3 separate regions of the Homo sapiens genome follow, and all the other regions are linked to region 1. Evidence: promoter capture Hi-C in 16 types of primary human blood cells and fetal thymus (Javierre and others, 2016). All regions are on one chromosome and are shown on one strand. The core of a region is centred on a gene start or on the middle of the fragment in contact, and the rest is flanking DNA. Distances in the headings are between cores, read along the strand shown.

Region 1 (4,742 bases), core at 403-2,902:
CTAACTGTGAATAGGATTCATGCCATCCACTCCCCTACATAAAACCTTTCTAGGCTTCTCTTTGCTCTTAGAAACTGGCAACTGCCTAAGAGGCCACACCTGGGCCTGTCCCACCTCCCCAGCCCTCACCTCCTTCCCAGGCCTCTGCATCCCTGTCCCCCTCCACTTCCTTTGCAGTGTGCCTCCAGGCCCTCTCCCCTCCGGAGCTCTGCCAGTGCAGAGCTCTCTGAGCCCTCTGTGTGGGACATGCTGTTCTCTCTACTTGGCCTGGTAGGGCTCCTTGAGGAGCCCTCGACCCTCCCAATGGGGTGGAATCCGCCGCGGTAAACTTCCACAGGGCCCCGTGCCCCCACTCTGCAGCGCTTCCCTGGGGTTATTATTCCACTACCAGCTGCATAATTATTTCATCCGTAATTATTGGACTCAGCCCAGCTCACTTCTGCCCCTGGCCTTTGCACTTGCTCTTCCCAGTGCCTGGCGTGACCTTCCCCACACGTCAGTCTGGCTGGCCCCCCTAGCTCCTCAGGTCCTTCTTTTCTTTTTGAGATGGAGTCTCACTCTGTGGCCCAGGCTGGAGTGCAGTGGCACGATCTCAGCTCACTGCAACCCCTGCCTCCCAGGTTCAAGCGATTCTCCTGCCTCAGCTGAGTAGCTGAGATTACAGGCACCCAGCACCACGTGTGGCTAATTTTTATATTTTTAGTAGAGATGGGGGTTTTGCCATGTTGGCCAGGCTGGTCTCGAACTCCAGACCTCAGGTGATCTGCCCCTCTCGGCCTCCCAGAGCGCAGGGATTACAGGTGTGAGCCACCGTGCCCGGCCTGCTCCGCAAATCCTCCTTCTAGTGTCACCTTCCAGGTGAGGACTCGCCAACAACCTGATAGAAACCTGCAAGGCCAGCGCCTCTGCAGCCCCACACTCCCTAACCCCTTCTCTAGGGCATTGCCATCTTCTGACATACCATTTATTTTATGTCTTGTTTAATGTGTGTGTGTCTCTCTCTTAAATGTCATGCAGCCGGGTGCGGTGGCTCACACCTGTACTTTGGGAGGCCGAGGCAGAAGGATCACTTGAGCCCAGGAGTCGAGACCAGCCTGGGCAACATAGCAAGGCCCTGCCTCTCTGTATTTTAAAAAATGAAGTAAATAATAAATACATAAAGTATTTATGTATTTACTTACATTACAAAGTTCCCCCAGGGGCGGGAACTTTGCCTTGTTCTTGCGGCATCCCCAGTGCCTTGGACAGCTCCGGGCCCAGAGTCGCGACGCCTCCAGCAGGCCCGGCTGCCCCACTGCGCACATGGGCACAGGCTTGGCACACGCACTGCGGCATTCACGTATCCGCGAACACATGGGTATCTATTTATACATGAAGACACGAAAATGTATTTATTTCTTTTAAAATCAGAAGAAAACGGTGAGAACTGTGAGGCCGGGGGGACGTTTTCCTCCGGGATCCTGGCAGATCCTGCAGACCGCGCCGTCGTGCGCGAAGCACCGGGACGGGCCTCCCGCGGGAAGGGCCCAGGAGGACACCGGGCTCCCCTCCCGCCCGCGGGGCCCCAGACGCGGCGCCGCTTTAAGGCTCCGGGCCCCGCGCGGATGCGGAGGCTGCGGCCGTGACGTCAGCGCCCCGCCCCGGGTGATGCTGCAGCAGCCGGGACCGCGGCCGGGCAGGCAGCAGCCCAGCGGGGACAGGGATGCCTGCCGTCTCCACCCACAGGTACCACCGTCTCCTCCGCGCCCTCCGCCCGCTCTCTGGCTCCGTGCCTGCCGGGGCGCCGCGCCCTGGGCCCCGGGGTAGTCAGGGCGCCGAGACCGGGACCCGAGGCCGGCACGGAGACCTTTGTTCCTCGTGGAAGTCTCATGAATTGCAGAGTCCACGGAGCTCCCCCGTCTCGCCCCTCCGAGGGCAGGAGCCTCGGGCCCAGGGGAGGGTGCCGGCCAGATGGCAGGTGCTCTCATCCTTGCTGGCAAGGGGAGGAGACCCCGGCCTTGGCCCCAGCTCCTGATGCGCTCCTTGAGCCGGAGGCCTGGTCCCTAGTCACCTGGGCAGGTGTCATCCGCTCCCGGCTCACCTCTTGCGTGGGGCTGAGCCCTCTTGTTGACCAGGGGCCTGGCAACGCCCCTCAGCATCCCAGGGTTACTTAGCGAGGGCACCGAGGACTCCCCTTTCCCGAGCGAGTCAGCACCAAGGGGAACGCGCTGAGGTGGAAGCCGTTCAGCTCCTTCTGCCCTCGACAATCAGCAACTTCTCTAATTATTTCTAGAGTGACAGCCGTGCATGTTTTTCAGCTCTTACAGGGAAGCAGAGTCAGGGGCGGAGGAAAGCCACGTTCAGGCTGCACCTGGCCTGGGCTTTTGGGAAAAGTTGGCCCTGGAGTAGGGGTCAAGCTGCCGGAGATGCAAAGTGGGAAACGGCCACGATTCAGTAACTAGCCTATTAAGTGCACCCTCCCAAGTCCGTAGAGCACCTTCCTGGTCCTGGAGGACCTCACTGAAGAATTTTGAGAATGGGTAGAAAGAAGCATGAGGGGTCGGGCGCGGTGGCTCATGCCTGTAATCCCAGCACTTTGGGAGGCTGAGTCGGGTGGATCACCTGAGGTCAGGAGTTCAAGACCAGCCTGGCCAACATGGTGAAACCCCATCTCTACTAAAAATACAAAATTAGCCGGGCGTGGTGGCACATGCCTGTAATCCCAGCTACTTGGGAAGCTGAGGCAGGAGAATCGCTTGAACCCAGGAGGCGGAGGTTGCAGTGAACCCAGATCATGCCACTGCACTCTAGTCTGGGCGATAGAGTGAGACTCCGTCTCAAATAAACAAATAAGCAAATACGCCCTAGGAAGGGAGGTGGCCCAAGGCAACCCCGTGGGGGGAGCTCATTTTCATAACGAGAAGAAAGAAATGAGGAAATGGTTTCCGCTCGTAGTAGGATCATTGTAAGCATTCAAACTACATTGACATTGATTACTTTTATTAATCATTTGCCGCTTAAACTTCCCACAACACAGTTTGAGGAATCTGTTACTTTAAGCATCCTCTGTACTCTGGAAGCACAGTGGACCCCTTGCATAGCCTTCGGGGGATCCAGGGAGATGAGTGGATTTCCTTTTGACCGAGTAAATGGTCATATGGTACAGTAAAGATGGTCTGGCGAATGTTTGTATTTGTGCATGAAAATTAGATTTTATGATCTTAAATTCCACTTTCACCCATTTTTATGGGAACCTTAAAAATGGATTTTTGTTGTTGTTGTTGTTGTTTTTTGAGACAAGAGTCTCACTCTGTTGCCCAGGCTGGAGTGCAGTGGTGCGATCTCAGCTCGCTACAACCTCCACCTCCTGGGTTCAAGCGATTCTCCTGCCTCAGCCTCCGGAGTAGCTGGGATTACAGGCACTCGCCACCATGCCCAGCTAATTTTTTGTATTTTTAGTAGAGACGGGGTTTCTCCATGTTGGCCAGGCTGGTCTCGAACTCCTGAGCTCAGGTGATCCACCCACCTCGGCCTCCCAAAGTGCTGGCATTACAGGCGTCAGCCACTGTGCCCGGTCTCAAAAATGAGTTTCTAAAATTCTTCTTATGATAAACATTTGTGAACAGTTTTTACTAAATGTAGTTTTAATAAAAATGGTAATGCTGATCCCCAGATTTGAAGATGAATCCTTAGTAAAGACTTCTTCTGAGCCAGGATTAAGCTAGGTTTAATTCTGGTTCAGATGCTAGAGAGAAGTTCATTGAGTGTGTGAGGATCTCCCTTCTGCTAGGACAGGCTGCAGTGGGGTGTGGCGGAGGTGGCAGTAGAGTTGTCCTCTTGCAGGTAGAGAAGTGGGCCGTCTACATAGTCCACTTTAAATAAGGTCAAAGAGGCTCCTCTTTTCAAAAAGACACTTCAGGGGCTGGGAATGGTGGCTCATGCCTGTAATTCCAACACTTTGGGAAGCCAAGGCAGGTGGATCACTTGAGCCCAGGAGTTTGAGGCCAGCCTGGGCAACATGGCGAAACCCCATCTCTACAAAAAAATACAAGAATTAGCCTGGTGTGGTGGTGTGCACCTGTAGTTCCAGCTATTTGGGAGGCTGAGGTGAGAGGATCACCTGAGCCCAGGGAGGTTGAGGCTGCACTGAGCGATGATGACTGCACTCCAGCCTGGGCTAGATAGAGGGAGACTCTGTCTGTCTGTCTGTCTGTCTGTCTCTCTCTCTCTCTCTCTGTTTCTCTCTCTCTCTACACACACACACACACACACACACACACACACACACACACACCTGCCATATGCTGTTTAAAGCTGAAGTTTTTCCAAACTGGGCCACAGTTCTTCATTCCAAATTTAAAGGGAAGGTTTCTAATGCACTTAAGTTCACATTATGGTTAAAATGCTGATTAGAAAGAGTGGGAGATATGCCTGTGTGCCTGCAGGTGGGGAGAGGCTGGGCAGAGGGACAGAAAGGGAGATGGCCACTGAGAGCATACGTGGGGCTGTGACCTTTGGGCGGAGTCCGATCCAACCGTCCACCTCACCTGTGCTGGGTCTCGCCTCTGACTCTGAAGGAGATGGTCTTACACAGTGTTGGAACTGGCGCTCTATTTCTGTGCTTTTGATGAATGAAGCTCCAGGGGATGCTAACTGCTGCTTGGGGTTTTGAAAGGAAGACCTGCCAATCACCAGGTTTTACCATGCAGAAGTGCTTGAGCTAGGCCAGTGAGGAACATAAATAAGCTTAGCTTCTTAAACAT
Region 2 (4,894 bases), core at 994-3,493, 160 kb before region 1:
CAACACTATAATGGTGGATCCATGTCATTATACATTTATCAAACCCATAGAATGTGTAATACAATGAGAGAATCCTCATGTAAATGATGGGCTTAGTTGTAAGGAATCGGTATAGGCTCAGCAAATGTAACGAGTGTACACCTTCATTTAAGATGAAAGTGGGTGCGGTGGCTCATGCCTGTAATCCCAGCACTTTGGGAGGCTGAGGTTGGCGGATCACTTGAGGTGAGGAGTTGGAGACCAGCCTGGCCAACATGGTGAAACCCCCTCTCTACTAAAAATACAAAAATTAGCCGGGTTTGGTGGTGTGCACCTGTAGTCCCAGCTACCTGGGAGACTGAGGCAGGAGAATTGCTTGAACCCGGGAGGCAGAGGTTGCGGTGAGCTGAGGTCACGCCACTGCACTCCAGCCTAGATGACAGAGTGAGACTCTGTCAAAAAAAAAAAAGAAAGAAAAAAAGATGTTACTAGCAGGAGAAAGTGTCTATGGGGAGAGGAAGGGCACACGGGAGCTCTGCGTTTTCTGCTCCATGTTCCTGTAAACCTAAAACTGCTCAACCAAATAAAAAGATCCATTTAAAAAATCAGTACCTTCGTAAAACCGAAAAAACATTAAAATAAGAATGAAGTGACAAGTGCAATTTAAGTCAGGAACTTGTTAGGTGAAAGTACTGAGGTGAAAACAGACCTTTATTCTGAATTCTCTGAGGAGCTGATCAAAGGAGGGATGAGTTACATAGGGCACATTGTCTACGGAAAGAAAACAGACCTGTTTTCCGGGAGAGACAGGCCAACTCTGAGATGAATTTGTCCCAGTTTGTTGCTGTTGTTTGTTTCAGAGACAGGGTCTCTTTCTGTCCCCCAGGCTGGAGTGCAGTGGCACAATCTCCTCTCACTGCAATCTCTGCCTCCCAGGCTCAAGCGATCTTTCCACCTCACACGCCTGAGTAGCACCCACCACAACACCCGGCTAATTTTTGTATTTTTTTGTAGGGATGGGGTTTCACCATGCTGCCCAGCTGGTTTTGAACTCCTGAGCTCAAGCGATCCATCCTCCTGCCTTGGCCTCCTAAAGTGCTGGGATTATAGGTGTGAGCCACTGCGTTTGGCTAGTTTTTATTCCTCATGGAGAAATAGCATAATGGGTGATGAGCCCGACTGGGCTGTCACTAGAAGTTCTACACATTACCATTTCGTATCAATCCAGGTTTTAAAAACCCAAGAAGGCCTGATGCTGCTACATTGTAGCTCATCAGGATGGTTCTGTGCTGCACACAGATTGGAGGACGCAGATATCTTTCTTCAGGATCAGTGCTTACGGTTTCATTTTAGGAATATCTATTTGCCCCTCAACTTTAAAGCTGAGTCAGGGCTGCGCCAGATGTGTTTTGTCTGCTTCTATACTCCTGACTTGTTCATTTTTCCCTTAAAGGGCTGCTTTCCGACTAGGCGTGGTGGCTTATGCCTGTAATCCAAGCATTTTGGGAGGCCAAGGAAGGAGGATGGCTTGAGATCAGGTGTTCGAGACCAGCCTGGCCAACATGGTGAGACCCCGTTTCTACTGAAAATACAAAAAAATTAGCCAGGCATGGTGGCACGTGCCTTTAACTCCAGCTACTCTGGAGGCTGAGGCAGGAGAATCACTTGAACTCGGAAGGTGGAGGTTGCAGTGAGCCGAGATCACCCCACTGCACTCCAGCCTGGGCGACAGAGCAAGACTCCATCTCAAAAAAAAAAAAAAAGGGCTGCTTTCAAAGATCACTGCATAAGTAGTGTGCTTATTATGATAGATTTTATAACTTTAAGATATAATCATCTTGTTCTTTTTCGTACATTAGCAAAGGAAACCATGAAACCACACGTTAGAATTGAGGGGACTTTGAAGTCAGGGAGTCTCTTTTTTACAGTTGAAGAGGCTCCGACAAACGTCAATGGTTTGCTCATGGGTACATGGCTAGTAAACACCAGAGCTGGCTCTAGGACTCGCATTGATGTCGGTTAATTGATATACCTGACCCCGCTACTAGTGCACAATTACTGCCCTGCGTCAGGCCAAATCAGGGGCATGGATCATCATGTTGGGGACACTACCCCAAAGGAGGAGATGACATGGCTGTCCACAAACCGGGAGCCCAGTTGTGCCCAGAATTGGTTCCTTCTGGTTGGTTCTTGGTCTCGCTGACTTCAAAAATGAAGCCGCGGACCCTCACAGTGAGTGGTACAGTTCTAAAGATGGTGTGTCTGAAGTTTGTTCCTTCAGATGTTGAGATGTGTTCAGAGTTTCTTCCTTCTGGTAGGTTTGTGGTCTCACTGACTTCATGAGTGAAGCCACAGACCTTTGCAGTGAGTGTTACAACTCTTAAAGGTGGTGTGTGTGGAGTTCTCTGTTCCTCCTGGTGGATTCGTGGTCTTGCTGGCTTCAGGACTGAAGCTGCAGACCTTCATGGTGACTGTTAATCTCACAAAGGTAGCACAAACCCAAAGACTGAGCAGCAGTAAAATTTATTGCTAAGAACAAAAGAACAAAACTTCCACAGTTAGAAGACGACTGGCGGAGATTACCGCTGCTGGCTCAGGTGGCCAGCTTTTATTCCCTTATTTGGTCCCACCCACATCCTGCTGATTGGTCCACTTTTCAGAGCACTGATTGGTCCATTTTACAGAGTGCTGATTGGTCCGTTTTTACTGAGTGCTGATTGGTGCATTTACAAACCTTTAGCTAGACACAGAGCGCTGACTGGTGCGTTTTTACAGAGTGCTGATTGGTGTGTTTACAAACCTTTAGCCAGACGCAGAGCTCTGATTGGTGTGTTTACAATCCTTTAGCTAGACAGAAAAGTTATCCAAGTCCCCCCACCTGACCCAGAAGCCCAGCTGGATTCACCTCTCACGGTGGCCCTCCTGCTCACACAACCTGCCTACCTCTTGGGAAGACACCTCCTGTTTGGACTTGCTGGTTTTTGTGCAGTCACGCAGAAAGCCCCATTTCGCATGACGCTAGCTGAACTAGAAGCAGAGAGACATGTACAACATTATAGATCTTTTATAGTTAAAAGGACCAGGAAATTCTGATCCCCTGACCCTCTCAACACCCTCCCCCCGCCACCCAAAACAACCACCAGGAAAGCGTTCTGCACTTCAGTGGAAAAGGCAAATCTTGTAACACTTGGCCTTGGCCTAGGTGCTGGGTGTCCAGAGCGGATAGAGGCCCATGGCGACAGTTGTGCCAGCAGATTCCTGCTGCTAAGTCCCCGGCCTTTGCGCTCTGTGGCCTGGGCTGATGGGTGGGTGGGTGCCTTTATTTGCCTGGTTGAGGAGTGCACTCACTGGGGGCCATTTGGTTTGAAACATTTTTTGCAGCTAAGGGGTGGTAAAGATGACGCTAGTTTAGCTGAGTTTAAGGCTAATTAATCAGCCTTCTTTTTTCTTTTTCTTTCCTTTTTTTTTTAGACAGAGTCTCACACAATTCCCTGGGCTGGAGTGCAGTGGTGCGATCATGGCTCACTACTGCAGCATCAACCTCCTGGACTCAAGCAATTCTCCTGCCTCAGCCTCCCGAGTAGCTGGGACTATAGGTGCCCAACACCATTGCCCCGCTATTTTTTTATTTTTTATTTTTTATTTTTTGTGGAGACAGGGCTTTGCCATGTTGCTCAGGCTGGTCTCAAACTCCTGGGCCCAAGTGATCCTCCTGCCTCAGTCTCCCAAAGTGCCAGATTTACAGGTGTAAGCCACCGCGCCCAGCCAAATCAGCCTTCTAAAGAGCTTAATTTTCCATCACTGACTTTGTGTTCTTTTATACAAAGGTTGCAGACTCCGAGGCTGAAACCCCTTTCTGACCGGTAGCTCTAGAGTAAACAAACGCCTGGACTTTCTTCATCCCCTGAAGACAAAGAACTTGTTCATGAGCCTCTCCAGGCAGCTCGTGGTCTGAGCTGTCAGGAATGACGGATGAGCAGCTGCTTTTGCCGGCGCCTCCGCGGCAGCTAAGGTAGCGCTCACAGGACTGTCTACACCATGGACTCAGTGTTCAGGTGTTCAGGGAGTTATTATTGGAGCAGCTCACTCTATCTTAAGGCAGACAGCCCCGGGCAAAGCGCAGCGGATAAACACAAGTGACATCTTATGAAACCTAAGTTCATGTGAAATCCTAGATAATTCTGTTGTCAGAAGTGAAAATATATATTGCATTTTTATCTAAAAATAAAAATGAATGTGATGATCTTTTTGCTCTTTGAGATCTAGATTTCGAAAATCTTTTCTTAGATGAAGAAGGAAGCCATTTCTTTGTACTATATCTTGGAAGAAGATTTTTTTTAAAGGAAAGCTGTAGGCTATATATACAGTCAGAAATTTGAAAAGATGCATATATATTTATTGAAAACTAGAAATGTTTTTGAAATAATAATAAGTTTAAAAAAGGAGAACAGAGTAAAAAGTGGAAAAGCAGTTAATTACATAATACAATACGTATTAGAAAAGGGGAAACCACTCCGTTTTTCTGATCCTAATCCTAGGAAAAAATTTCCTTGGAGAAATCTGCATCTTAGGCAGCTCTGGGAAGAATCCAAGGGCCCTCACTCCATCTTTAAAGAGCCCACCCTGGCTTTTCCCAGTGGAATTTGCTATGTTTGGGAAGTTTAAAAAGTGTTTAAGACAATATGGATTTTGCAATGGGATTTACACATAATTAACTCATGAGTCGCTTCTTTTGTGTTCCACTCTATGTCTGCTTTGTGGTTCCTGAAAGTCCTTGAAGAACCGGAGCTGAAGGTACAGGGCCCACGTTTGCCTAATCCCAGGCTGGAACAATTGGTTTCAGTCCCCGCCTCTCTTGGAATGTGGTTTGGAGGTGGAGGAAGGGGAGGAGGGGGACGCAGGAGGCCGGTGGAGC
Region 3 (4,714 bases), core at 1,433-3,932, 210 kb before region 1:
TAAATAATGTAATATAAAATAAAATATCATTATAGAAACAAGGAAGTATTTGAGAGTGAATGAGAAAAATAATTACACATTAGAACTGGAAGAATCTTGCTAAAGCAATAATTAGAGTAAAAATTTTAGCCGTAAATGTTTCTTTATATTAGAAAGGAACTGCTGCTGTTAATTAGTGAGCCAAGCATTCAGTGTAACAAATTGGATTAAGGACTTCGGAATGAATGTGAAGAAAGTAAAAACAAGGGAATACTCAAAATAAAAACAGAAATCAGTGAAATCGATAACAAAGAAATAGAAAGGATTCATAAGGAAAAATGGGTTCTTCGAAAAGACCAAAAAAAGAAACACTCACTTCAGCAAAACTGATCAAGGCCAGAAGAGAGAAGGACCAAGTCAAGCCTGAAATAGGACCCATAAATACAGGCCCAGCAGAGCTCCAAATGATAAGAGGACCCTGTAAACATCTTTAAGACTATCCACTGATAAGTTACCAGAGCAAGATACCTTATCAACAGTGACTCAGGAAGAAATAGTAAACCTGCCTGGTTCTAAACCCATTAAAGAAATTGAAACAGGCCATGTGCCTTGCCTCATGCCTGTAATCCCTGCACTTTGGGAGGCCAAGGAGGATCACTTGAGTCCAGGAGTTCAAGACCAACCTGGACAATATGGCGAAAGCCCATCTCTACGAAAAATACGAAAATTAGCCAGGGGCGGTAGCACGTGCCTATAATCCCAGCTATTCAGGAGGTTGAGGTGGGAGGATCACCTGAGTCTGGGAGGTCGAGGCTGCAGTGAGCTGTGATTGTGCCACTGCAATCCAACCTGGGCAACTGAGCAAGACCCTGTTTCTAAAAAAAATAACAAAGAAATTGAAACAGACAATAAAATCTCTCCTCAAGGAACTATCGAGCCCAGGTATTTCTACAGGTAAGTTTACCAACTGTTCAAAGAAGTAATAATCTCAGTATCGCACACTCTTCCAAGTCACAGGAATGAAGAAAAGACTCCCTAATGAATTGAGACCCAAATCAATTTGTATAAGCACAAAACTAAAAAAGCAGGCAAGAATGGTACAAGAAAGGAGAATTCCTGATCAATTTCACTCACGAACATAGCTGTAAAAATCCTAAGCAACATATTTGCCAGCAGAATCAAGGAAGGTGCAGGCCCACCCTGTTTTATTGTGGTTCACTCTCTTGCACTTCACTGATGCTATACTTTCTACAAATTAAAGTTTTGTGGCAACCCTGCGTTGAGCATGTCTCTTGGTACCATTTTCCAACGGGGTGTGCTCACTTCATGTCTCTGTGTCACACTTTGCTAATTCTCACACTACTTCAAACTTTTTAATATGTATTGTATCTGTTATGGTGATCTGTGATCAATGGTCCTTGATGTTGCTGTTGTGATTGTTTTGGGGCATCATGAACTGTGCCCACATAAGACCGCAAACTTGATCGGTAAATGTTCTGACTGCTCCACTGATCGGCCATCCCTCCCGTCTCTTTCCCTCTCCTTGGGCCCCCTATTCCCTGAGACACAAGAATATTGAAATTATGCCAATTAATAACCCTACAATGAATTCTAAGTGTTCAAGTGATAGGAAGAGTTGCATATCTCTATGTTGGTGCAAAGGTAGTTGCCGGTTTTGCTATTACTTTCAATGGCAAAACCCGCAATTACCTTTGCACCAAACCAACCTAATATTTTAGATCAAGTGCTGAAAGTGATTATGCTTAGTGAGGAATGCATATTGAAAGCTGAGACAGGTCAAAAGCTGAGTCTCTTCTGCCAAACAGTTAGCCAAACTGTGAGTGCAAAGGAAAGTCTCCTGAAGGAAATTCCAAGTGCCGCTCCAGTGAACACATGAATGATAAGAAAGCAAAACAGCCTTATTGCTGATATGGAGAAAGTTCTAGTGGTCTGGATAGAAGATCAAACCAGGCACAACACTCCCTTAAACCGATGCCTAATCCAGAGCAGGGCCCTAACTCTTTTTTTTTTCTTTTGAGAGAGAGGCTTGCTCTGTCGCCCAAGCTGGAGTGCAGTGGTGTGATCTCGGCTCACTGCAACCTCTGCCTTCCGGGTTCACACGATTCTCCTCTCTCAGCCTCCCGAGTAGCTGGGATTACAGGGGCGCCCCACCACACCCAGCTAATTTTTGTATTTTTAGTAGAGATGGGGTTTCACCATGTTGGCCAGGCTGGTCTCGAATCCCTGACCTCAGGTGATCCACCCACCTCGGCTTCCCAAAGGGCTGGGATTACAGGCGTGAGCCACCATGCCCGGCCTAACTCTTTTCAATCCTGTGAAGTCTGAGAGAGATGAGAAAGCTGCAGAGGAAACATTCGAAGCCAGCAGAGGCTGGTTCATGAGGTCTAAGGAATGAAGCCATCTCCATAGCATAAAAGCCAAAGGTGAGGCAGCAAGTGCTGATGGGGAAGCTGCCGCAGGTTATCCAGAAGATCCAGCTAAGATCCTTGATAAAGGTGGCTCCACTGAACAACAGATTTTCAGTGTAGATGAAACAGCCTTCTATCGGAAGACGATGTCATCCAGGATTTTCATAGACAGAGAGGAGAAGTCGATACCTGGCTTCAAAGCTTCAAAGGACAGGCCAACTCTTGTTAGGAGCGAATACAGCTGTTGACTTTAGATTGAAGTCTGTGCTCCTTGGCCATTCCAAAAATCCCATGGCCCTTAAGCCTTAAGCTAAATCTACTCTGCCTGTGCTTTATAAATGAAACAACAAAGCTTGGATGACAACACATCTGTTTACAGCATGGCTTACCAAATATTTTAAGCTCACTGTTGAGACCTACTATTCAGGAGAAAAAGATTCCTTTCACAATATTACTGCTCATTGACAATGTACCTGGTTACTCAAGAGCTCTGCTGGAGATGTACAAGGAAATGAATGCTGTTTTCATGCTTGCTAACACAACATTCATTCTGCAGCCCATGGATACAGTAATTTTGACTTTCAAATCTTATTACGTAAGAAATTCGTTTTGTAAGGCTATGGCTGCACATAGATAGTGATTCCTCTGATGGATCTGGGCAAAGTAAATTGAAAACCTTCTGGAAAATATTTACCATTCTAGATGCCATTAAAAATGTTTGTGATTCATGGGAGGAGGTCAAAATATCCACATTAACAGGAGTTTGAAAGAAGTGGATTCCAACCCTTGGAATGACTTTGAGGCATTCAAGGCTTCAGTGGAGGAAGTAACTGCAGATGTGGTGGAAATAGCAAGAGAACTCGAATTAGAAGCGGAGCCTGAAGATGTGGCTGAACTGCTACAATCTCATGATCAAACTTGAATGATGAAGAGTTGCTTCTTGTGGATGAGCAAAGAAAGTGGTTTCTTGAGATGGAATTTACTTCTGGTGAAGATACTGTGAATACTGTTGAAATGACAACAGAGGATTTAGAATATTATTTAAACTTAGCTGATAAAACAGCAGCAGGTTTGAAAGGATTGACTCCAATTTTGAAAGAAGTTCTGTGGGTAAAATGCTATCATATAGCATCACACACTACGAAGAAATCTTTCGTGAAAGGAAGAGTCCTAATCAATGCAAAAAACTTCATTGTCATTTTGAGAAATTGCCACAGCCATGCCAACCTTCAGCAACCACCATGGTGATCAGCCAGCAGCCATCAACATAGAGGCAAGACCCTCTGCCAACAAAAAGATTGTGACTCACTGAAGGCTCAGATGACTGTTAGTGTTTTTTAGCAATAAATTATTATTATTATTATTTGAGATGGAGTCTCACTCTATCGCCCAGGCTGGAGTGCAGTGGCATGATCTTGGCTCACTGCACCTTCTGCCTCCCGGATTCAAGCAATCCTCCTGCTTCAACCTCCCAAGTAGCTGGGACTACAGGCTTGAGTACCACACTCGGCTAATTTTTGTATTTTTAGTAGAGATGGAATTTCACCATGTTGGCCAGGCTGGTCTTGAACTCCTGACCTCAGGTGATCCACCCGCCTCGGCATCCCAAAGTGCTGGGATTACAGGTGTGAGCCACCATGCCTGGCCTTATTTTTAATTAAGGTATGTACATTTTTTAGACATAATGCTATTGCACACTTATAGACTACAGTATAGTTTAAATAAAACTTTTATATACACTGAGAAACCAAAAAACTAGTGTGACTCACTTTAATATTTGCTTTATTGAGGTGGTCTGGAATGCAACCCAAAATATCTCCATAGTATGCCTATATGAGAAAGATAAAGTTTATTCCAGGAAAATCGATTGTAATCTGTACCAGTAGTCGATTAAAGGAGAAAAACCATGTGATTGTCTTAATCAATGTAGAAAAGCAAATTATAAAATTTAACATTCATCCATAATTTAAAAAACTTAATCGACTATAAGTAGAAGAGAATATCCTTCACGTAATGAAGACCATTTTTAAAAACAAACAAAACTACAGCAAACCTCAAACTTTATGGTAAAACGTTAAAAACATTCTCTCTCGGCCAGGCACAGTGGCTCACGCCTGTAATGCCAGCACTCTGTGAGGCCGAGGTGGGCAGATCACGAGGTCAGGAGATCAAGACCCAACCTGGCTAACATGGTGAAACCCCGTCTCTACTAAAAATACAAAAAATTAGCCAGGCGTGGTGGCGGGTTCCTGTAGTCCCAGCTACTCGGGAGGCTGAGGCAGGAGAATGGCGTCAACCCGGGAGGC

The links. The method cuts DNA at HindIII sites, captures the fragments that hold promoters and counts their contacts. A CHiCAGO score of 5 or more calls a contact.
Region 2: a fragment that was not itself captured here is called in contact with the fragment with the promoter of SLC45A1 in region 1 in 5 of 17 cell types (total CD8 T cells, naive CD4 T cells, naive CD8 T cells and 2 more); the score reaches 8.7 in total CD8 T cells.
Region 3: a contact is called between a fragment that was not itself captured here and the fragment with the promoter of SLC45A1 in region 1, in 9 of 17 cell types (total CD8 T cells, total CD4 T cells, naive CD4 T cells and 6 more). The highest score is 10.1, in total CD8 T cells.

What each region holds. Positions count from the first base shown.
Region 1 is chr1:8,316,462-8,321,203 of GRCh38, forward strand. It overlaps SLC45A1 (solute carrier family 45 member 1), which reads left to right and starts at 1,653. Exons shown (of 9, transcript NM_001080397.3): 1 at 1,653-1,725. RefSeq lists a silencer at 1,483-1,762. The HindIII fragment of the contact is 5,366 bases long and covers 1-4,723 here.
Region 2 is chr1:8,150,923-8,155,816 of GRCh38, forward strand. No RefSeq gene overlaps it. Among named protein-coding and RNA genes, the nearest start is that of LINC01714, 55 kb to the right of the region's middle. The HindIII fragment of the contact is 7,766 bases long and covers 1-4,894 here.
Region 3 is chr1:8,107,592-8,112,305 of GRCh38, forward strand. The region is part of intron 2 of ERRFI1-DT (ERRFI1 divergent transcript); the gene reads left to right. Among named protein-coding and RNA genes, the nearest start is that of ERRFI1-DT, 83 kb to the left of the region's middle. The HindIII fragment of the contact is 151 bases long and covers 2,608-2,758 here.